Regions from separate parts of the Homo sapiens genome. Here regions 2, 3, 4, 5, 6 and 7 are each linked to region 1. Evidence: promoter capture Hi-C in 16 types of primary human blood cells and fetal thymus (Javierre and others, 2016). All regions are on one chromosome and are shown on one strand. Each heading gives the region's core, a stretch centred on a gene start or on the middle of the fragment in contact. The rest is flanking DNA. Distances are from core to core; before and after follow the strand shown. Region 1 holds the start of SRFBP1 (serum response factor binding protein 1). Region 2 has its middle 1.7 kb from the start of DTWD2. Region 3 overlaps DMXL1-DT (DMXL1 divergent transcript). Region 4 overlaps DMXL1-DT (DMXL1 divergent transcript). Region 5 has its middle 82 kb from the start of TNFAIP8. Region 6 has its middle 26 kb from the start of TNFAIP8. Region 7 has its middle 5.3 kb from the start of HSD17B4.

Region 1 (2,999 bases), core at 199-2,698:
TGAGTCAAGAGACGCTATGGAAGAAACTTTTTTTTTTTTTTGAGACGAAGTTTCACTCTTGTTGCCCAGTCTGGAGTGATCTTGGCTCACGGCAACCTCCGCCTCCCAGGTTCAAGTGATTCTCCTGCCTCAGCCTCCCGAGTAGCTGGGATTACAAGCATGCGTCACCACGGTCGGCTAATTTTGTATTTTTAGTAGAGACGGGGTTTCTCCACGTTGGTCAGGCTGGTCTCGAACTCCCGACCTCAGGTGATCCGCCCGCCTAGGCTTCCTAAAGTACTGGGATTACAGGCATGAGCCACCACCCTCCGCCGGAAGAAACGTTTTTCCTGCATTTTGAATAAAGGGGCCTGGATTTTCATTTTGCACTGTACCCCAGGTATTATGTAGCTGGACTTGAAGTCCTGTAGCAGTGGACAGTCCCAGGCAAGTGACTCTGGGCGAGGCACTTGGTGCCTCTGAAGTCACTTTCCACATCTGTAAAATAATAGTTCAGAGCAGAGTAGGGTGGCTCACTCCTGTAGTCCTAGTTATTTGGAAGGCTGAGGTGAGAGGATGGCTTGAGCCCAAGAGTTTGAGGCTGCAGTGAGCTATGACTGTGCCACTGCACACCAGCCTGGATGACAAAGAGAGACTGGGTCTCTAACAAAATAATATTAATAAAAGGAAAATAATTTCTATCTTGTTGGATTTCTGTGGAGATTTGGAGCTAATTTATGTAAAGCTCTTGGACCACCATTTGACACATTTTAATGGTCAATACTAGAAGGTGTTGACAATTATATATTACCTAATTCAAACACACTCCCTTACGTCTCCTATGCTTGCCGGCTAATAAACAGCCATTCCCACAGGCAGTACCAAATGTGTATCCTGGTTTTGCTTCAAATGTTTATTCCCTAAATTTAAACCCTTCTATAGTGTGCAGGAAAAAAATGTCCGCACCTCAGCTATAATGTCAGGTTGTAACAAAAAACTGCGAGGATTTAAAAAGGTGTGCTTGTTAGAAAAGCAGAAATCTTCACAAATACTAGATTTAAAAAAATGGAAGCAAAAAATCGTTCATTCAAGTGATCATTTCAGAAGAGCTCTTTCACCGCCGTTCAGCGCCCCCCTAGCCATTAGAGAGAAAAACCAAGGCCGGTACAATGCGAGCGCAGTGTACCAAGGGAACACACACACACACACACACACACACACACACACACACACACACACACAAACCGAATCTTGAAAAACTAGACGTTGCCCAGCTACCAGCCCCCGTCTGGTTTCCATAGGAACGCGCAATTCCGTTGCGTAGCCCTCTGCGCCGGTAGTTGTTCTGTCTCAGTTCCGGTTTTCCCTTCCAAGCGTCAATGTTTCTTGTTCCCAGGCGGCAGCTAGAGCAGAAGGCGGATGAGTTTTGGACAGAAGAGGCTTCCGTTGAGGGGCGTGGCGACGCAGCCGCGGTCTGAGAGACCGGTTCACGTGCAGGCAGCGGCGGATCATATTCCTTCATCTACCATGGCTCAGCCGGGAACTCTGAACCTCAATAACGAGGTGAGCGCCGAGGAACCTATGGGGCTGACTTTAAGGGTCCTCAAAACCAGCTCTTTTGAGACGCGTGGTCGGAGGCGGGCATAGAGGGTGCGGTTGGAGGAACTTTCGTGGTGGGCCCAGGCGGGTTTCCCGCAACTTGGAGTTTGGCAACCGGTAATTTCCCTTTTCGGTCTCCAGGTGACTAAAGTGAGAGACATGTGTCAGGCCCCACGAATTTATGTCTGTGGGACTTTGGGAAGAACCTTTAGCCTGTACGTTCAATATTCTCGTCTGTAAAGCGGAACTCAAGATAGTTCGTCCCAGGGTTGTGAGATTAACTGAGATACGTAAAGTATTTGCAAGTGCCTGACCCTTAATAAACTTTCAGTACACATTACCTGCTCTTTATTGCCTGTCGAAAATGAAAGAGAGAAAGTAAGAGCTGTAGCTTCTAAGAAATTGGTGGTCTTGAATGAGACTGTATGCTCAGTACTTCGTTTCCTCTTCCAGTTAGTGTCCTATTTCTTTGCTTCCGTTTACAGCAGAACTTCAATAAAGAGCTGTTTATACTTGCTATCCTCAATTCTTTTTTCTGCTTTTTCAGTCCATTCTCATCAGACATTTGTTCTCACCACCGTCACTTCCATAGTGTGCGGTGTCGACAAAATACCATTTCTACCACTTATCCCCCTCTGGTTTCTGCTTCTATTCAACAAAATAATGTCATCCAAAGTCTTAAAGTAAGCTGGAAACATAAGGATCGAGTAAGGACCTCACAGTTAGATACAGAAAGGAAATTCTTTATCCCGTTTATGAGCAAGTCACTGTTTAGATTACACACAGTAGTGTAAGGGATATTTCATATTTTCTAGTAACCTATACTCAAGTAAGAGAGCTAAGCAACACTCACCTGTGTTACAGAACAATGTGTGAAGAATGCCTCCAAAACCTAGTAATGCAGAAAAGTTTCCAAAGGCGGCAAAATGAAATGGGTGATACTTGTCCTTGGTCTTTAGGGATCTTGCACAGGAATTGCAGTCAGTGATTCAGGAAAGGGGAAGAAGTCATTCCAGGCAGAGGGACTGGTATAAGCAGGAAAGGGCTAGTAGCAGAAGAACCCGTGGGTAATACAGGGATAAGTAACTCTTCACTGATGGGAACTTGTGAGATGAAGAAGGAAATAAAACTGAAATATATTCTCTGCTGCCAGATTAACGAGTCAGGATTTCAGTTGACAGTGGAGTACAGGATATGCTGAAGAGGGAAGCTGAAAGTAGTTACTATTTACTCATAAACATACATTAAGCTTGTGCTTTGTGCCAGAAAGCGTTTGGTGGGCTATTTTGCATTAGGTTACCTGTGATGTATGAAAGATCAGAGTAATGTCCCTGGGATTTCAACCCCAGGGAGCTTCATATCAAATTTTGTAATGACTTTGATGATGGAAATGACAGGGGATGAGTCATTAAAGACTCTTT
Region 2 (2,999 bases), core at 1-2,500, 3.0 Mb before region 1:
GTTAAGTAGCGTCATTGGGAGAGGTAAGGGAAACCTCCCCGAGAGGACCCCAGTACCAAGCCCGAATTTAACTCCTTTAAAAGTTAAAATAAAATGGAATTCTGCATTTTCCGCCTTGGGATGGCAGTTTAAGAATTTGCAGGATTTCCACGCGTGCATGCATCGCAGGTGCGGCAGCTGATGCACTTATTATTTAAAGGCCAACAAAGGAGAGGTTATATCCACTGGGAACTACTCACAGCTGGTCCGTTTCCTTATGTGAATTTCCTGCTCTTCTATGTCTTGTGCTAATAAGACATCAAGCATGCTATTTTACACTGGACACCAGATATTTGTTAAATTAGATTTTTAGATCGTCCCCGATCAGGAAGCAATAGGAGAGCTGGCCCGGGGTACCAATAGGTTTTATGTATGAGGAAACAAGCCCTAGAAAGGTAACGTTGCCCAGGTATTTAACAACTACTGGATACGGCGGTATATAGCACAGCAGCTGTTTTTTAAAAGCCAAAATGAAATCTATGTTAGAATGAAGGCAGAAATACTATTTACCCAAAATGGGTATCGAATTCCTTTTGTTTATTAATGCTTTGTGTTACTTCCAGCAATACACAACATTAAAACAGAATTAAGCTTGGTTTTGATCAATCATGTGAATTAAGCTTAGGAATCACAGTTGTCTTAACTCTATAGTTGTAATAGATTAAATGTGAGGCAAAGTAGACAACACAGTAATAGAGCAAATACTGTATTTCTTAAAATGTTTATTTCACATTAGATTTTTCAGTCATCTTAAAATCAAGTTTGTGAATAAAATACCGTGCTGTTTTCAACTATCCTACGTTCTTTCCCCCCGGAAACAGCACCTCTCTTTTCCTTTGGAGCGTCCTATGTGAGGGATAGAAAAAGGCTGAAACACCCACCTGGTGATGGACGTAGAGTGGGAGAAAGAACTAGCAATTATGCCATTTGGAATCGGAGGATAAACAAAATCCAGAAACTGTAGGAAAGGAGATGAATCAGAAAATTCATCTTGTCTGTAGATTTAGGTTGGGGAACCAATTCTTTAACTGCCAAAATTAAATTCTCATGTGACTTATCTTTAAACGAAAGGAAGCTGCTCATCTTTAATTTCAAGAGGTGAAATGTGCTCAAGTCCTCTAAGGTCCCTTGAGACTCCCAATTGTGTGGTGTGAGAAGACAGATGATAAGGAAAAAAAAAAAAACTTTTTATCTAAGGAATGCGAGCAGTCATGTCTCACTCTCCCTTGAGCTAAATAATTACCTCTTGAAGGCACTTGCTATGCAGGCCCTAGACTGACACCGAGTAGCCATAAAACGCCGTATACCCTATAGTTCAACAATATGTATAGCCAATCACTAACCAATGTTATTTCTGTAAATAAATGACACTTCCTGAGACATAGCTTTTGTAATGCCCCCCTCTGCTGATTCGTTCTCTTTTCTTTAAAAACTCCAGCCCATTTTGTTCTCCAGAGCACTCTCCACAGCAACCTGGAAGTACGACCTAGGCTACAGTCCTCAACGTTGGCCCAAATAAACTCTCTATATTAATTTTGCCTCTGCTCCTTCCTTTTAGGTTGATGTGAGCCTACTTACTTGGGGCTTCCTTTTAACACCCCATATCAGATTATTGGCTTTACCCTTCAAAGTATTCAAAATCCAAACATTTATCTCACCTACTACTTCTGCCCTGGTTCAAGCCCCCGTCATCTCTTGCATAGAATATTGCCAAAGACCTAAGTGGTCTCCTGCTCCATCTCCGCTCCTTATGAAGAAAATCCCCTACAAGTCCATTGTCTCAGAGGCTGACCAAAATCAAAGAAAGCTTCCATCCAGGCAAGACACAGAGTTGAGAAAGGAGAGCCATTTTCCTCTATAGGAAGCAAGAAATTCACCCAATATCCAGGTTTGTGAACAATGACCTTCAGACGCCTGAGGAAACATGCAGGTGAGGTTACCACCTTGGGGCAGACCCAGGTATCAGACCATCAGTGACTCAGCTTCTGGGAAGTGCCAAGACACCAGAAAGGGAAGTAAAATATCCTTTATGGGATACAGACAACTTACTAGTGTCAAGATAATGTATTGAGGTGTTAATGTATGTTTTGTTTATCTCCCAACTTCAGGTAGAAAACCAGACTTTTATGCTCCTTTGCCTCAGAGGAGTTTGGGTAGTAAAGACTGAGGACAATCTTAGGTCCACGCCTGGTGTTGTGGGAAAAGGAGATCCTGTTACTGGTAGAGGAAAGGGCCTCAGTAATGTAAGGGATTGAATATCCTGCCAGGCCTGCAGTATGAGGATTCAGCATTGTATAAGATTTGATTTAAATGAAATAAAAACATGGTATTTTTTGCTATATTCATTTTCTATCACTGTGGAACTAATAACCACAAATTTAGTGGCTTTTTCCTTTGTTTTTTTTTTTTTTTTTGAGATGGAGTCTCGCTCTGCCGCCCAGGCTGGAGAGTAGTGGCGTGATCTGGGCTCACTGCGACCTCCGCCTCCCGGGTTCAAGCAATTCTGCCTCAGCCTCCCGAGTAGCTGGGACTACAGGCTGCGTGCCACCATGTCAGGCCAGTTCTTTTTTTTTTTTTTTTTTTTTTTTTTTTGAGACGGAGTCTCGCTCTGTTGCCCAGGTCGGACTGCGGACTGCAGTGGCGCAATCTCGGCTCACTGCAAGCTCCGCTTCCCGGGTTCACGCCATTCTCCTGCCTCAGCCTCCCGAGTAGCTGGGACTACAGGCGCCCGCCACCGCGCCCGGCTAATTTTTTGTATTTTTAGTAGAGACGGGGTTTCACCTTGTTAGCCAGGATGGTCTCGATCTCCTGACCTCATGATCCACCCGCCTCGGCCTCCCAAAGTGCTGGGATTACAGGCGTGAGCCACCGCGCCCGGCCCAGTTCTGTATTTTTAGTAGAGACAGGGTTTTACTGTGTTGATCAGGCTGGTCTTGAACTCCGGACCTCAGGTGATCCAC
Region 3 (2,999 bases), core at 256-2,755, 2.9 Mb before region 1:
ATACGAGAGAGAGAGAGCATGGCTATATTATGAAAGAGTCAGGGATAAAAACAAAGATTTTAAATAAATGGTAACATTATTCAAAGTGACTTTGATTTTTTTAAAAAACAGGCATTCAAGTGTACCTTAGAAATACCTACTGTTTGCCTGATTTCAGAAGGGCAGCAAATAAAATGAGCCATCATTTTCCTATATATAGGCTTTACTAAAGCTAGAATAGCTCCATGAGATCTTTTCAAATCCCTTTGATTGTACTGTAAACTTCTAACAGATCTGGAACACAAAAATGACCATTGGTTCTTCTATAAACATCTGTTTTCAGAGCCGGGTGTGGCGGTGCCTGCCTGTAATCCCAGGACTTTGGGAGGTGATGGAGGAGGGTCACTTGAGGCTGGGAGTTCGAGACTAGCCTGGGCAACTCAGCAAAACCCTGTCTCTACAAAAACTAAAAAATAAGCTGGGCGCGGTGGCTCACACCTGTTGTACCAGCTACTCAGGAGGCTGAGGCAGGAGGATTGCTTGAGCCTAGGAGGTCGAGGCTGCAATAAGCCAAGATTGTGCCACCATACTCCAGCCTGGGTGATAGAGTGAGACCCTGTCTCATAAAAGAAAAAGAAGAACGTCTGTTTTTAGTTTACTGTTTGTGGGGGTGGGAGTTGGTGGACAAAGGAATGGAGAACAAATAGGGGAAAATCAAGTAATTCTCAAAACAAAAGTAAATCATTGAAATAGTATATGTATGAGTTAACAGAAATGAGTCAGAATTCTAAAATAAATATCCTTTGAATTTCATTATACCAACCTAGAAATTCCTGCAAATATGAATATGATATAGCCTTGCCACTGACGTACCCCTTTCAATAGTCTGAAATAGAGCAGCATTATGTTGAATTCCATGCTGTAGCAAATGGTACTATAGCAAAGCCCTGGTGTTATTTCTGAAATTATAACTTTGCAATTTGTAAAGTCCTTTTACCAACACTATTTAATTTTGTACTTCCCTACAGCCTTAAAATATAAATAAGATATGTATTATCATCTGTATCTGATAGATGAAGAAAATGACAGCCTCTGAAAAATGAAATGGCTTGCCTAAAGTAACATGGCAATTTTAAGTGAAAAGACTATATTTAGAAGCCAGATCTTCTAATTCCTGGCCAACTGCTCTTTCTGTGACATCATAAAGCCTCTTTCATCCTTCCCACATTGTTGAGTGTAGTTATTTACTAGCAGTTTCCCAAATTTTATGAGGTACAAAATCAAAATAACGTAGAGTAAAAAGAATGACTGACATGACATTACATCAGAAATAGCTAAGATTAAAGTTTATATTTCCTGAGTCACTATTTCTTAACTAATCCATTAAATATTCACGGACGACTCAGCTATAGATGTTTACCATTGTTTTTTTTTGGCAATAACTATGTAATACCTTGAGCTAAAACTATGGGGAAAATATACCTGGCATTCCCAGCACTTTGGGAGGCCGAGATGGGTGGATCACCTGAGGTTGGGAGTTCAAGACCAGCCTGACCAACATGAGAAATTTCGTCTCTACTAAAAATACAAAATTAGCCGGGCGTGGTGGCACATGCCTGTAATCCCAGCTTCTCGGGAGGCTGAGGCAGGAGAATCGCTTGAACCCCAGAGGCGGAGGTTGCAGTGAGCCATTGCACTCCAGCCTGGGCATCAAGAGTGAAACTCCATCTCAAAAAAAAAAAAAGAAAAGAAAAGAAAACGAAAAAGAAAAAGAAAGAATGCTTGGGCCAAGGGCGGTGGCTCATACCTGTAATCCCAGCACTTTGGGAAGCTGAGGTAGGTGGATCACCTGAGGTCTGGAGTTCAAGACAAGCCTGGCCAACATGGCGAAACTCCTTCTCTACTAAAAATACAAAAATTAGTCAGGTGTGCTGGCGCACACCTGTAATCCCAGCTACTCAGGAGGCTGAGGCAGGAGAATCACTTGAACCCGGGAGGCGGAGGTTGCAATGAACTGAGATTGTGCCACTGCACTCCAGCCTGGGCGACAGAGTGAGACTCCATCAAAAGAAAAAAAAAAGAATGCTTATAATTCCATTTCCCACTAATTTTACTATATTTTTCCAAGTTTCCAAAGAGATAATGGTTATATTATACAAGCAACATAAATGTTTTTAAAACCTTTTTGCAGGAGGAAGTTTAAAAATCACAAAATTGCTAAAGCAGATGTGGCAATTACCAAAAAAACAAAAAAAAAAAGAGGAAGTTTAAAGAAAAACTAAATATAGAAATAATGTTAGACTATTAGATGTTAGAATGCATGAGTGGAGTTATTGTGGCAGCCACATATGGGAAATCTTAGATTTTACATTTTGGGACATGTTCTGCACAATACCTCTATTCACTGAAAATGCCATTATATGAGCGTATGATGGATGATTGATTTTGTTTATTTTAGGAGAGATGTGAGTGTAGTTTAACAAAAGCCCAGAGAATAGTAAGTTGAAATGTTTCTCTTCTAGATATCATGTTTCTCTTCTAAAATACTCTTTTTTGTTAAAAAAATCATTTATTCTTATATTCATATAATAGCTTTTGAATACAAGCTCCAAAATTAAAATTAAATACGGTAACAAGTCAGCTGACCACAGTTAATTTTGCCCCAAGTCATATAATTACAGTCTCAATTGACTCGTTATTTACCCTTAGAAAGTCACTCCAAGCTGGCTGTGGTGATTCGTGACTGTAGTCCCAAGTACTTGGAAGTCTGAGGCAGAAGGATCATGTGAGTCCAGAAGTTGGAAGCTGCGGTGAGCTGTGATTGTGGCACTGTACGCCAGCATGCACGACAGAACAAGACTCTGTCTCTTAAAAAAAAAAAAAAGTTACTCCTATACTAAAAACACACACAGTGACCCACAACTATTACATAAAACAGACTAATAATTGAAGATTGAAAAGATTCATACTCCGCTATACATATATTCAGTTAAACCAGAATTATTCTAAAACAGTATAAT
Region 4 (2,999 bases), core at 140-2,639, 2.9 Mb before region 1:
CTGGAACTATCTTTATTGTATGACTCAATTGTATGTCTTTATTTTTATTTTTATTTTTCAGAGATGGGGTCTTGCTATGTTGCCCAGGCTGGTCACAAACTCCTGTCCTGGGCTCAAGGGATCCTCCTGCCTCAGCCTCCTCTGGCATACATAGCTGGGAATATAGGCACATGCTACAACCTAATAATAAATATTTATAAAATATATATTTAATAATAACATATTATAATAATATATATTTAATAATAAATATTTTTTATTTAAGCCACTGCTAGTTGCCTAGTCTGTTATGTACAGCCTAACACATATAATATAAATATTATTTATGCATTTGAATATTTAATATAGCCATCATGTTTGCATTTGTTGATTAGTAAATATATGGTTACACTTCATTTGTTCCCTTTCTGGAATGACTGCTAGAAAGTTGAACAGGTTGTATGGAAACCTTTGGAGCAATCTAATATTTCAATTAAAAAGGAAGAGAGAAACATACAGACTACTACATTCACTCTGTATAGAAACATCATTAAAGAGATCCATAACCAGGAATTGCCATCGTAATATGAATGTGACTTTTAAACCCAATACTTTCCTAATTCTAGTCCATCTCTTACATTCTCTGCTGTTTAAAAATAGCTTTATTGAAAGATAATTCACATACTATACAATTCACAGTTCCTCTTTGAAAAGAATTTGCATCCTACTTTGTAGAATGAAGACTATCAAGTTTAACCTTTCTGACTAGATAGTCTCTATCTCTACATTTACCATGTCCAAGACCAATCCCTCCACCCTTGATTCCTTATCTCCTCTGTGTTTACTCCATCAGGAGTCTTTAGTGTCCTTCCATTTATATAAGGAGCTACTTCTTAGATAGGCCTTTCCAAAGGAGGCATAGCAGTGGGGTGTGACACAAATGGGGTTAGCTAAGGCCTGTGGTCAGACAGTAAGAGGTCTGTGCAGGGCAAGATTACTGACTAGACCCAGGCAGCAGGGCTTGGCAAGTTTAGGAGACCAAACAGGCTTTAAAGCTTCTTTTAAAGGTAGCAATCAAGGTCAGAGAAGCAAAGTAATTAGACTTTTCAAAACAGTAGTCCTGAGCCACTGCTAGAAAGGACTTGTTCTCTGCAGCCTAGGAAGCCACTGCCTTTTTATCTATTGTAGTGTAGGTATTCTCCAGTCAGCACCTTTCCCTGTGAGAGCCTTGTAGATATTAGGGCAATTTAAAAACTTCTTAGTCTCTAAAAAACAACCAAACAAATATATTTAAAAAGAAAGATTGAAGGAAAGGAAAAGAAAGATACTATCTTCATCTATTCAAGAGTTCTCAGTCTCCAGGTCAGATTCAAGCCTCCGATTGAGTCCCTCATGGCAAGCTAATTCTTCAGAGTCTTGTCATTTTCTTCATAGATTTCTTATTTCAGGAACCCGCTTGAGAAAAGGGCAAAAAGTAAGTAAAAGGGCAAAGACAATTTACACAGTGAAGGTCTCCTTATGTCTTCATCATCTAATCTAACATTGATAACCTCCACTTTACCAAAGTACATTTCTGACAGTCACTAATGACTTTCTAAAATCCTAAATCCGATGTTCTCTTAGACTTCAATTCTTTTTACTCTCTGAGCAGCAACCTTTTCCCCCCCCCAGGCACTTCCTAAAATCATTATTCCTCAATGCCCCTCCCATCCACCTGACTGCGTTAGAAGAGTTGAACCCTTGACTACTAATATTGGGTAGTCACTAAGCTTTAGTTCTCAGTTCTCTACTCCACTTTCTTCACCTTCTCCCTTGGAAATCTCCTCCATTCATGACGCTAAACTCTTGACAGAAGATAGCTCTTGGTTTTGTATTACCTGCTCTGACAGCATTCCTGAGCCCCAATCCCATCTTCCCAACTATCTTCTGTAATAGACGCCCCATGATTACTTCAACTTCTAATGCTGAAATTAGTCTTAGCCTTACCTACCCAAAATGGCTTATCCTACTATTTTCTCCCTATCTTACTACATTAGTAAAATACCATTTCCTTAGTCATCCAACCCTGCTAATTAGTGGCTAGTTTCCACTACTACTTTTCTTTTCTCTCTCTTTTTTTTTTTTTTTTTTTGAGATGGAGTTTCACTCCTGTTGCCCAGGCTGGAGTGGAATGGCACGATCTTGGCTCACTGCAACCTCTGCCTCCCGGATTCAAGTGATTCTCCTGCCTCAGCCTCCAGAGTAACTGGGATTACAGGTGCCTGCACCATGCCCTGCTAATTTTTGTATTTTTAGTAGAGACAGGGTTTCACCATGTTGGCTAGGCTGGTCTCAAATTCCTGACCTCAGGTGATCCACCCACCTTGGCCTCCCAAAGTGCTGGGATTACAGGTATGAGCCACCGCGCCCAGCTTCCATTACTTTTCTAAAAGAAATCTTCAAAATGTTTTCCCTCTTTTTTTTCCAGGATAAAAACCTTTTCTAGAAAAAATATTAAGCAAACAAATGTAATATGTCAGACACCAGACTGCATTATCTATAATAAAAAATTAGAAATATGTAAAACTACCATCATATATTTTAACATTTCGTTTTTTAAAAATAGAGATGAGGTCTCTCTCTATGTTGCCCAGGCTGGTCTTGAACTCCTGGTCTCAAGCTATCCTGCCTTGCCCTTCCAAATTGCTGGGATTATAGGCATGGGCCACTCTGCTTGGTCAAAATATTTCATTTTAAAGAACACAAGCTTGAGGGTGAGATTTTTTTTCTTCCCAGAAATATATATATAGTAGAGCAAAAATTACTTTTTCACTTACAGCAAAAGATGTTTCTTTTATCTACCTTTAGTTCTTTAGATTTAGAGAGCAAAAGACCCTACTTACTAAAAATCCATTATTGTTTAATTAAAGCAGTATGTGCAAACCTGGAGCTTTCTCTCTTTGGATGCTTTAAATCCAGGAATTATAACCAAAAGCCTCTGCACAGAGAATATGGAAGTGTTCTTCTAGAATACAGGGAAA
Region 5 (2,999 bases), core at 1-2,500, 2.7 Mb before region 1:
ATTAAGTTCAAAATTCCACTTGTAGTTTCCTTAAACATTGGGAATAAAGATGACTTTAGTCAAGAAGTAGTTGGTCCAAATGACTTTGCTGGAATCAGCAGCTCATGTCTCAGCCCCTGCTGGCTGTGTGGCTTTGGACAATCTACTTAGCTCTCTGAGCCTGTTTCTTCACCAGAGTAAAAACTGGGGATAGTATTTATATTATAGGATTGTTGTGCAGATTAAGCCAGATGTTCCTCTCCTGTATCAGTGTGCAGAAGGCACCCATTAAGTGGAGGACTTAGTTAGATTGGCCAAATAGGTCTCATTCCAGTAAGTGTTAGTACTGAGCCACAGTGGAGTAGAGAGGGAAAGTAGTAACTTGTGTCATATGTGATTTTAGCATGAATTCTTTTTTCCTTTAACAATGCCAGAGGAGCCCAGAGAATGGGGTGAATGTAGCACAACTTCAGTGATTGCTAGCTGCAGGGTCACATGATTATATAAGGGAAATGTCACCGCTGCTGCCAAAGATAAGTGAGCCAGAGCAGGGCATTCGAGTTTTATGTGCCTGAGAACGAAGACGAGCCATAGTACCCATTAAGCTTCTCTGCATGAGGGAAGCTTTCAAAAGACCTATTACAGTTAAATTGTGAGCAGTGGGTTGGCCTTTCACAACTCCCATGTTTAAAACAGGTAGTGAATGAAACCAGATTATTTAAGACAGACAGCTGCCCTTGGTGTTGCAAAGGGAATCGGGCTGGCATGTCTTCAGGGGAAGTTGCGTGAGGTCCGGGAGGCCCAGGGCAGGGACCGCATCTGCAGGATTAGGCACCGGGGCAAGGTCTTTTGGGAACACAGTACTCAGCAAGGCACACAGTAGACTCTTGGATATTTTAAAGGAGCCAAAAAGTAAGCAACAGCTCACTCTGTCAATACCCTCTCTAAGCCTGGCTCTTACTCCTTCAACCCAAATTCATTTAGCTCAAGCCTTCCTCATTCCTAACTCTTATTTATTACTCTTATTTATCATTTGTTTAACAAAATGAGGTTTTTTGTTTGTTTGTTTGTTTGGTTTTACAACATGGCTGTCAACAAAAATAGGGGAGACAGAGATTGTGGTGTGTGCTATGTAGACCTAACTACACTCGTCTTTCCTGTCCTGAGCTCTCTTCTGACTGTGTTCAGACCCTCACACACATGCAGACACGAAAAAAAATGCCAGTCTTCTGAGAAAAAAATGCATGGACAGTGTTGGCAACAGTGCAAGTTTCAGAACAAACTTTGGTCACGTAAATCTTTGGGAAGTAAGTCCAGTACCTCATTCCATCATTCTGTGGTCAGGAAACTACTCTTTTATTTTTCCTTCTTCACTCTTTAAAGGGTTGAGATTGTTTTCTGGAAAATGGCAGGTGTTTGGTTAAATACTGTTTTGCTACACTTGAAGGGCAGAGCAGTCCTCACTTAGTGATGGAATTCCTTTTGCCTTGAGGCAGAATTAGGCTGCTAGTGACTCATGAGGTATACCTGGAAGAGGTGAGTGAACTCAGGCCTTCCCAACATCCGGTGATGACCTCTGTTTGCACACACGTAGCCACTTTGCTCCTTTGCTTTTATGACCTGGAATGACTGATAGTGCCTGAAGGAACAGGCTGCTATTACTTTTCAAGGTAAGAGACCCTGTGTAAATAGGGAGCCTCCTGAGGAAGCAAGGATTCCCTGCCCTGTGTACCTGTGGTGCTTATCACCTCCCTGGCAGGGAAGCTCTGCCCAGGTAGGGTAGTTTGAGAACATCATTATCTGGGCAGCTACAAAAGTGATACACCAAATGAAACTTTGAACTTATCCAATGTGCTGTATTTTAGGGCTCATCTGGGACTATTCCTGTGAACCTGACTGTTAAGTCAGAATCACCAGTGAAGCTTGATGCAAATTGAGAACCCCTAGCCTGGGAGACTTATGTGACTCATTTTCCTGTCTTGTTCTAGAAAGAAGCTTATTCAGGCAGCAGCTAGCTGTAGGGATTTTTTTTTAATTTTTTTTTTTTTTTTGGCAGTGGAAAGAGCTCTTGAAAGTACAGAGTGGCTTTAAAGTTTAAAGAAGATTAAAATGAACACAACATATAAAATAAACACAACATATAAAATGAACACCTATGTACCCATCTTAAGAAATAACAAAGTTGTTTTTATAGGTCTTCACTGGGTGGAAAAATATTAACAAGCAACCAGGTCAAGAACAAAAAATAACAACCAAAACAATTAGTGGTGTCCCACAAATAGATCCAGAAATTGAAGGCCATGAAACAGAGACATTGGAGAGTCTGCCCAGTGTTCATTAGTTGAAAATCTAGACTTGAGTCACCAACAATGCTGACATCATAAATCCAGTATGCCAGCTGACTTAAGGATAACTCAGGTGGTTTGTAGATACTGAACTGGGATGGGCATCCTTATTTCAACAGCGGCGCATGTTTGGAAGAGCACGGGCCCAACTCAGGACTCGGAGTTGCCAAGCGGACCGTTTCCCCTAACCCAGGCCTGTTTCCTGTCCTGAGGTCCTGGTACCTCCAGGAATCTATTCTGTTCTCAGAGTGTCCCTCTCATTTTGTAATGGTAGAAAATGAGAAAATGAAAAACAGACCATTTTTTTCTTTGAAGCCATGTTCTGTAACTTCCTCCTGCTTCTTTTGCATTTTGGGTTTTGCCAGTACTTGAGACTTCCCTTTTTCTGAATTTTAGTCAGTTTTTAATTTATCATTCTAATAGGGGCCATGGAAATTAGAATAATAAAGGTTTGCTACTGATCATAACATAGTATTAATTTTAGTAGATTGACAGCTTTTTTTTTCCCCTCTAGATTTAAATATTTGAACAGAGAATAACAGGTTATGAAACTGACTAATTCAGGTCTGGCCTCTGCCTTCCTCTGTAGTCAGCCATCCCCCAGGTTTGCTGCCCTGGAGTTGAGCACACCAGGGCCTTTCAGCCTTACCATTAGGGAAATGAGGCAGATAGAGG
Region 6 (2,999 bases), core at 216-2,715, 2.6 Mb before region 1:
TAGTTTTTCTTGGCAAATTGAGAGTTTAATTAGTTTAGTATTTTATTACGAGGGATCATGTTCAGTTTTACATGAGGTTTTGCAATGGAAGAATGCTATAAAATGTCAGGCCTCTGTTTATATTCAGTTCAGTAGAGAATAAACCACATTCAAGTGCCAGCATATTTATTGCAGCCAGCACTCGGTGTTTCTTTGCTTTCTAAATGCTGATTTAGTGTTTTCATTGGTGCTGCAAGTGTGAAGAGAGACTTGAGCATGAATCATAGGAAGACAGACGTAGATGCTCATTCTGCAGGCCTAGGACCCAGCGAGTGCCGCAGCTGTGCTGCTCACAGCTAGTGGTGGGATTCTGGGCGTGCCTTTCAGCCTCCTTGGATGGCCCTGTTTTCCTCGCTTGTGAAATGAGGTTAGATGGTATCAGCGGTCTTGCCAACACCCAAGTTATCTGATTCTAAGAGAAATTAGAAGATAGTCTTCTTTTTTTGCTTCTAACAACATTTTTACACAATTTATACTTAAAACATAGAAACAAGTACTACATGATAAAAAGGCCTACCTTCCCACACTTACCTTTTGTGCAACCCATTTGGGCAGGCAACGTGAATGGCAGCTGTGGTGATGACAGACCTGAGCAGTCTCTGCCCCTGTGCTGGCCCTCAGCAGCAGCTGTTCACACTGCTTAACTCACTACTCTACCTGGCCTTGTGAGGTCTTTTGCCTTTCTGTTAAATAGAAAGGTGTTCTTCCTATTTTCCACACAGTTTGCTTTTTGTGCTTTCTGTCTGGTGAATCATGGATGCTTTTGCGATATGATATGAAGAGAAAAAAGCCAGCAGATGTAGGCTCATATCCCAGCATTCTGCTGAACAGATATGTTAACTTTATGGAGCTGGGTTTCCACACCTGTAATCCGAGGATAATGACGCCCACCTCCCAGGGTTTTGGCGAGGAGTGAGTGGACCACAGTGAGAGCACCATGCACACTGTGGACATCTCCAGGTGCTTAGCAGCAGGATTTCCCCAGCCTTGTCTAGACATGGACCATGCAAGTCCATGTCCAGACAAGGTTTGGGGAAATCCTGTGCTGTGCAAGGCCTCCTTTATGTGAGAAGTGAGTCTGACCATCCGCCGTCTCTGTTAGGCCATCTGGAAAACGCTTCTGAGCATATTGTTTATCTCAGTCCCTGAGTCTCCTGGAATAATTCCTTCTCAGCCTGCCTTCCTCCCTGCTTCACCAATGACTCTTTCCTCTTTGAAGAAGAGGAGAGAGACAAAGAGGAGTAAGTTGAATAGAGGAGGGGGAAGCTATAATTAGCGCCATGGTTTAGGCACGCCATTGAAAGAGTTAGCATGGGCAGGATTCAGCATACGAGGAGGGTACAGAGAGGACTGATGGGAAGAGAGGAAGGTTGAACAGAAAGAAAATGAAATTAATCTTGGCAGCCATGGCATTAAGCACTAGGGATTAGGGAACGTCCTGGGAATGCCAAAGCATAAAGGCCAAGGTGTTTTGTAGACATTTCCAGTTCTGTCTGAGGCTGTAGAATTAGATGAAATAAACAAATGAAAGTATCTTTTTATGCAGACACAAATGTCATCACTCTTTTGATGATTTTGTTGAATGTGCTTCTGATAAGGATGTGGGTAGCTATAAAGGAAATATTTTTCTTGGGGTATGTGATAAGCAGTTGATGAAACTAGGCCAGCGAGAGCATGTGTGTCTAGAGATTGTTCTGGGAGGGTAGGGGTTAGGCCTCATGGCCTCTCCTCTCAGCCCTGTCCTATTGTGCAGGGTCCTGCTGAATATGCTGCTTAACCTCTCTGCTCTGACACTCGCTTTGGAAACTGGGATTGCCACCCACTTTCGCAGGGTGTGGGGAGAGTGAAATGATGTAAGTGATAGTCTCTTGCTCTGAGATGCCGAGATAACGTGGAGTACACACACACGGAAGGGAAGGATCTCATTTTCTCATGGCCACCATCATGTGTTTGCAGAGAGATAGAGAAGAAGTACCAGATAAGGTGGCCGCAGACTTCCCTAATGACAGCTTATTTGGTATTACTGTGACACTCCAGGCTACCTCCATGACTGCCAATGCCAGTTGCACTCTCAGGGGCTGGGGGTTAGGGGTTAGGGTACAGATTAGCCCTGCGCTTCTGCTGCAGAGTTGTGCCCACCAAGAAAAAGGCCAAGAGCCAACTATATTCCTGAGCACAAATTGCTTTCACGAAGCTAGGCCTGGACAGATTCTTCAGCCACTAGGCCACCAGGCAGGGCTCCTAGGGCTGGAAGTCCTGGCTGCCTCCACTCTCCTCCTTGCCTTGAAGCATGGGTGATGCATCCACATTGGGCAATCATCACAATGTTGATCCCTGAACCTACCTAGAGTGTCTTAATTCACAAGTCCTAGGGAAGCATGGAAGTGCTGTGCATAGTCATATCTACAAAGAGATATTAGCTTTTTTTTTTTTTTTTAAACATAAGGCTATTCTGTAAGGTTTGACTGCTTCACAAATACTTACTTGAGAATCTCCCTGCTCTCTAGCCTATGTCTGTGATGACTCTTCTTTGTTCCCAAATCAAGTAGGATAAGCAGGATGCTAACTGCTGGGACTGGTTTAAACAGCACACTTTGAATAGATCCGGGGATATCTTGGGCATTCTAGTCTCAAGTGAGAGAAAAGGAGTGTCTTAGGGAAATGTCTGTGCAGATGCTTTGCTTTTTGTTCTCCTGTTTTTGGAGAGCTCTCTCCAAAACCAGGAGTTTCCTGCTGGGTGTAGAGGTGCCCACTGGATACATGAGGCTACCATGTCCTCTGCCCTTGCCTGGTGTTGGGACCTTGCTGGTGCCTCCCCGACTGGGCCTGGAGCATGTGTAAGGGCCCTGATGCCATGAAGGCAGTTGTTTTCACATAGGACTGCAGGATTCTTCCTCCAGCCTTGTCTTCCTGCAGCCTCACTGCACTGCCCCATCCTCCCCTAGCAGAACTGGAAAGAG
Region 7 (2,999 bases), core at 249-2,748, 2.5 Mb before region 1:
TCTCCCCCTTTTCCACCCGCCTGCGCCCCCGCAGGAGCCTGGGACCGCCTGTGGGCAGCCATACCAGCCTGAAAGCACCCAGTCTCATCTGATCTCGGAAGCTAAGCAGGGTAGGCCTGGTTAGTGCTTGGATGGGATTCCGACCGGGAATGCTGGGTGATGTAGGCTTTTGGCTTCCCACTCCCTCCCTCTTTCCCACTTTTGTCGCCGGGCTTACCAACCGCCTCCTGACTCTTCTCCCCCTTTTTCACCCAAAAAGAAGAAAAAGAAAAAAGAAAGAATGGATAAGTAAATACCCCACATTAAATACATTATAATAAACATTTCAAAGAGAAAATTATAAAATGTTCCAGAGATAAAATTGCTCAGTAAAGATGAATAACTATCAGATTATTATCAGACATTTCCATAGCAACACTATAAAGGTAAGAAAGCAATAAAAATTGTTCAAAATTAAAAAAAAAGTTATATGGTAAATTCTTGTCCTAAAATAAATTAACTGGTTGTTTAAAGAAAGGGATGTTTGCAACAAGTCAGAAAGTTGAGGCATGTTGAGGAATTGTCTGTGAAAGTCGTGAAAAAAAAGTTATAAAAGAGAATTTATGCAAGAAATGTTGCATAATTTAATAGTAATTAGGCTTCCTGAGTGTAAAACTATTGAAGAAACACTTTATGTGCAAGGTGTGTAAGAAAAATAAAATATACTTTTGGTTAAAAGATTATAAGGAGGCATAAGAATGTGGATTTTTACCTACATTAAAAGGTTAAAAATATTTTGTTTTAAAGGTTTAAGCAAGTTTTAAAACGTTAATTGTAAAGGAAATTCTATGTGTAAACATATTAGCTAAAGTTAAAGGGGTATCATGCAGTTTTTCCGTGGACTGGACGTTAAAATAAAAGCACAGTGGGTTTTTCTTAAAACACTAACTGCTCTTTAACAAAATTATAAAAGGTTAAATAGAGTCTATGGAAATCTTACCTTATGGTCAGACATTAAAATTTGATAATTATGTCTATAGGGTTTTATTAAAATCAAGTTTAACATTAATAACACACTAATATAAAGGTAAAATTTAGCTTATCTGGTATAAAATCATACAGGAAGCATTGTCAAATGTAAAAGGGTGTTTGGGTTTCTTTGGTCTAACAACTAATAAAAATAGGTGCCAAAGGAAATTTCTCAGCAGGGAGGCACTAAGGACTATAAAGTCCACTGCTGGTGTTCCCAAATTTAAAACAAAAGATCAGTTTCTCAGAAATTATACACTTGGTTTATCTTCCACTTTCCTTTCTCTCAAAACTAAATGTCTTTTAGCACAGGTACCACCCCTAGAATTTCCAGTAAATCAGCACCAGCCTGGGGATCACATTCTTGTCAAAGGGTGGAAAGAAGGAAAATTTGTGCCAGCCTGGGAAGGACCCTACCTAGTGCTGCTAACCACTGAGACTGTTGTTCGTACCGCGGAAGGGGGTTGGACACATCACACCCGAGTCAAGTAAGCGCCGTTATCATCAGAATCATGGGCCATTGTTCCTGGATCAAGCCCTACCAAACTAAAGCTAAGAAAAGTGTAGTCTATCTATCTTTTCCTTTCCTTTCTGAATCCAGTGCCTATAGCCATTACTATTCCTACCACTAGCAACTCTAACCCCACTTTTGAGCATTTTTATGGTTTAGGAGTAGAGGTCACTGGAAAGGATCCTATAGGTTTCTTTAAGATGTGGTTTGTTCTCCCTCCTCCACCTCCTACAACTGCCCCTTTCCCAAACCTATGAAATCAAACTATGCCTCGCCTCATGCCAAATGACAAAAGCAAGGTCTCAGTAGTAGAAATAGAAGACCTAAGGCAAACCATAGCCATTGAAACAGAGTAAAAAGATGTAAATCCCTGGTTAAAATGGATTAAATATTCCGTTCGCACTTGAAACAAAAGCGACTGTTACTGTTGTGTGCACAGTAGGCCAGAGGCCCAGGTTGTTCCCTTTCCACTGGGATGGTCCTCAAATCAACTGGACATGGAGTGCATGGTAGCTCTTTTTCAAGATTCTACCGCCTGGAATAACAAATTGTGCCAAGCTCTTTCTCTGCTATTTCCTGAAGTTCAACACGCTGTGGGTCAGCCCCCAAGGGCCATCCAGCCTCCATCTTCCAAAGCCAATTTTACCTCATGTCTCCAATGACAAGGGGAAAAATTTGGCATTCCCTGGAGACTTAACAGGATGCAGGGAAGTCAGGCACTTCCAAGAGCTGACCCAACAGTCTGCCCTTATTCATCCCTGACTGGTTGTATGGTGGTATTAGGGAGGACCTTTACTGGACACTCTGCCAAATAATTAGAGCAGTACTTATGGTCTAATTCAATTGGTTATCTCTTTTACTCTGGCATTTCATCAACTGGAGGAAGGAAAAATAAGACATCGTAAAGTGAAAGAGGCCCCTTATGGGTCTTTCAACTCTCATGTCTATTTAGACGCAATTGGAGTCCCACTGGGAATACCAGATCAATTTAAAGCCCAAAATCAAATAGCTGCAGGATTTCAGCCAGTATTTTGGTAAGTTACAATTAATAAAAATGTAGGTTTGATAAACTACATTTATTGCAACCAACAGCGATTTATTAACTACCCTAGAGATGCTGTTAAAAGAATAGCTGAGCAATTAGGGGCTACTAGCCAGATGGCTTGGGAAAATAGGATAGCCTGAGACATGATATTAGCAGAAAGAGGAGGAGTTTGCATCATGATTAAAACTCAGTGTTGTACCTTCATCCCAAACAATACCGCCCCTAATGGAAGTATAACAAAGGCATTGCAAGGTCTGACTGCTCTGTCCAGTGAGTTAGCCAGCAACTAAGGGTAAATGGGCCCTTTACAGGATGCCTAGAAAAGTGGTTTGGTAAATGGAAAGGAATAATAGCCTCAATTCTTAACTTCCCTTGCAGCCGTAATGGGTGTACTTACTCTTGTTGGGTGCTGTATCATACCATACATCTGTGGGT

What was found. Contacts are between HindIII fragments. The CHiCAGO score rates a contact against its expected background, and 5 or more counts as called.
Region 2: a fragment that was not itself captured here is called in contact with the fragment with the promoter of SRFBP1 in region 1 in 8 of 17 cell types (total CD8 T cells, non-activated CD4 T cells, naive CD8 T cells and 5 more); the score reaches 13.8 in total CD8 T cells.
Region 3: a fragment that was not itself captured here is called in contact with the fragment with the promoter of SRFBP1 in region 1 in 1 of 17 cell types (monocytes); the score reaches 7.7 in monocytes.
Region 4: a fragment that was not itself captured here is called in contact with the fragment with the promoter of SRFBP1 in region 1 in 1 of 17 cell types (non-activated CD4 T cells); the score reaches 6.5 in non-activated CD4 T cells.
Region 5: a fragment that was not itself captured here is called in contact with the fragment with the promoter of SRFBP1 in region 1 in 1 of 17 cell types (monocytes); the score reaches 9.2 in monocytes.
Region 6: a fragment that was not itself captured here is called in contact with the fragment with the promoter of SRFBP1 in region 1 in 1 of 17 cell types (fetal thymus); the score reaches 6.3 in fetal thymus.
Region 7: a contact is called between a fragment that was not itself captured here and the fragment with the promoter of SRFBP1 in region 1, in 1 of 17 cell types (naive CD8 T cells). The highest score is 8.8, in naive CD8 T cells.

Annotation. Positions count from the first base shown.
Region 1 is chr5:121,960,527-121,963,525 of GRCh38, forward strand. It overlaps SRFBP1 (serum response factor binding protein 1), which reads left to right and starts at 1,449. Exons shown (of 8, transcript NM_152546.3): 1 at 1,449-1,542. The coding sequence starts at 1,507. RefSeq lists enhancers at 1,102-1,640, 1,385-1,434. The HindIII fragment of the contact is 3,156 bases long and covers 1-2,825 here.
Region 2 is chr5:118,988,761-118,991,759 of GRCh38, forward strand. No RefSeq gene overlaps it. Among named protein-coding and RNA genes, the nearest start is that of DTWD2, 1.7 kb to the left of the region's middle. The HindIII fragment of the contact is 1,187 bases long and covers 658-1,844 here.
Region 3 is chr5:119,017,395-119,020,393 of GRCh38, forward strand. DMXL1-DT (DMXL1 divergent transcript) reads right to left here. Exons shown (of 3, transcript NR_134250.1): 2 at 2,683-2,846. Among named protein-coding and RNA genes, the nearest start is that of DTWD2, 30 kb to the left of the region's middle. The HindIII fragment of the contact is 4,389 bases long and covers 1-2,999 here.
Region 4 is chr5:119,059,101-119,062,099 of GRCh38, forward strand. All of the region lies in intron 1 of DMXL1-DT (DMXL1 divergent transcript), which reads right to left. Among named protein-coding and RNA genes, the nearest start is that of DMXL1-DT, 10 kb to the right of the region's middle. The HindIII fragment of the contact is 714 bases long and covers 1,033-1,746 here.
Region 5 is chr5:119,273,000-119,275,998 of GRCh38, forward strand. It overlaps a transcript of TNFAIP8 not described here. Among named protein-coding and RNA genes, the nearest start is that of TNFAIP8, 82 kb to the right of the region's middle. RefSeq lists enhancers at 527-616, 737-786, 861-1,360, 1,783-1,832. The HindIII fragment of the contact is 1,298 bases long and covers 602-1,899 here.
Region 6 is chr5:119,328,775-119,331,773 of GRCh38, forward strand. It overlaps a transcript of TNFAIP8 not described here. Among named protein-coding and RNA genes, the nearest start is that of TNFAIP8, 26 kb to the right of the region's middle. RefSeq lists enhancers at 122-809, 534-583. The HindIII fragment of the contact is 4,578 bases long and covers 1-2,999 here.
Region 7 is chr5:119,445,666-119,448,664 of GRCh38, forward strand. It overlaps the pseudogene RNA5SP190. Among named protein-coding and RNA genes, the nearest start is that of HSD17B4, 5.3 kb to the right of the region's middle. The HindIII fragment of the contact is 3,139 bases long and covers 1-2,999 here.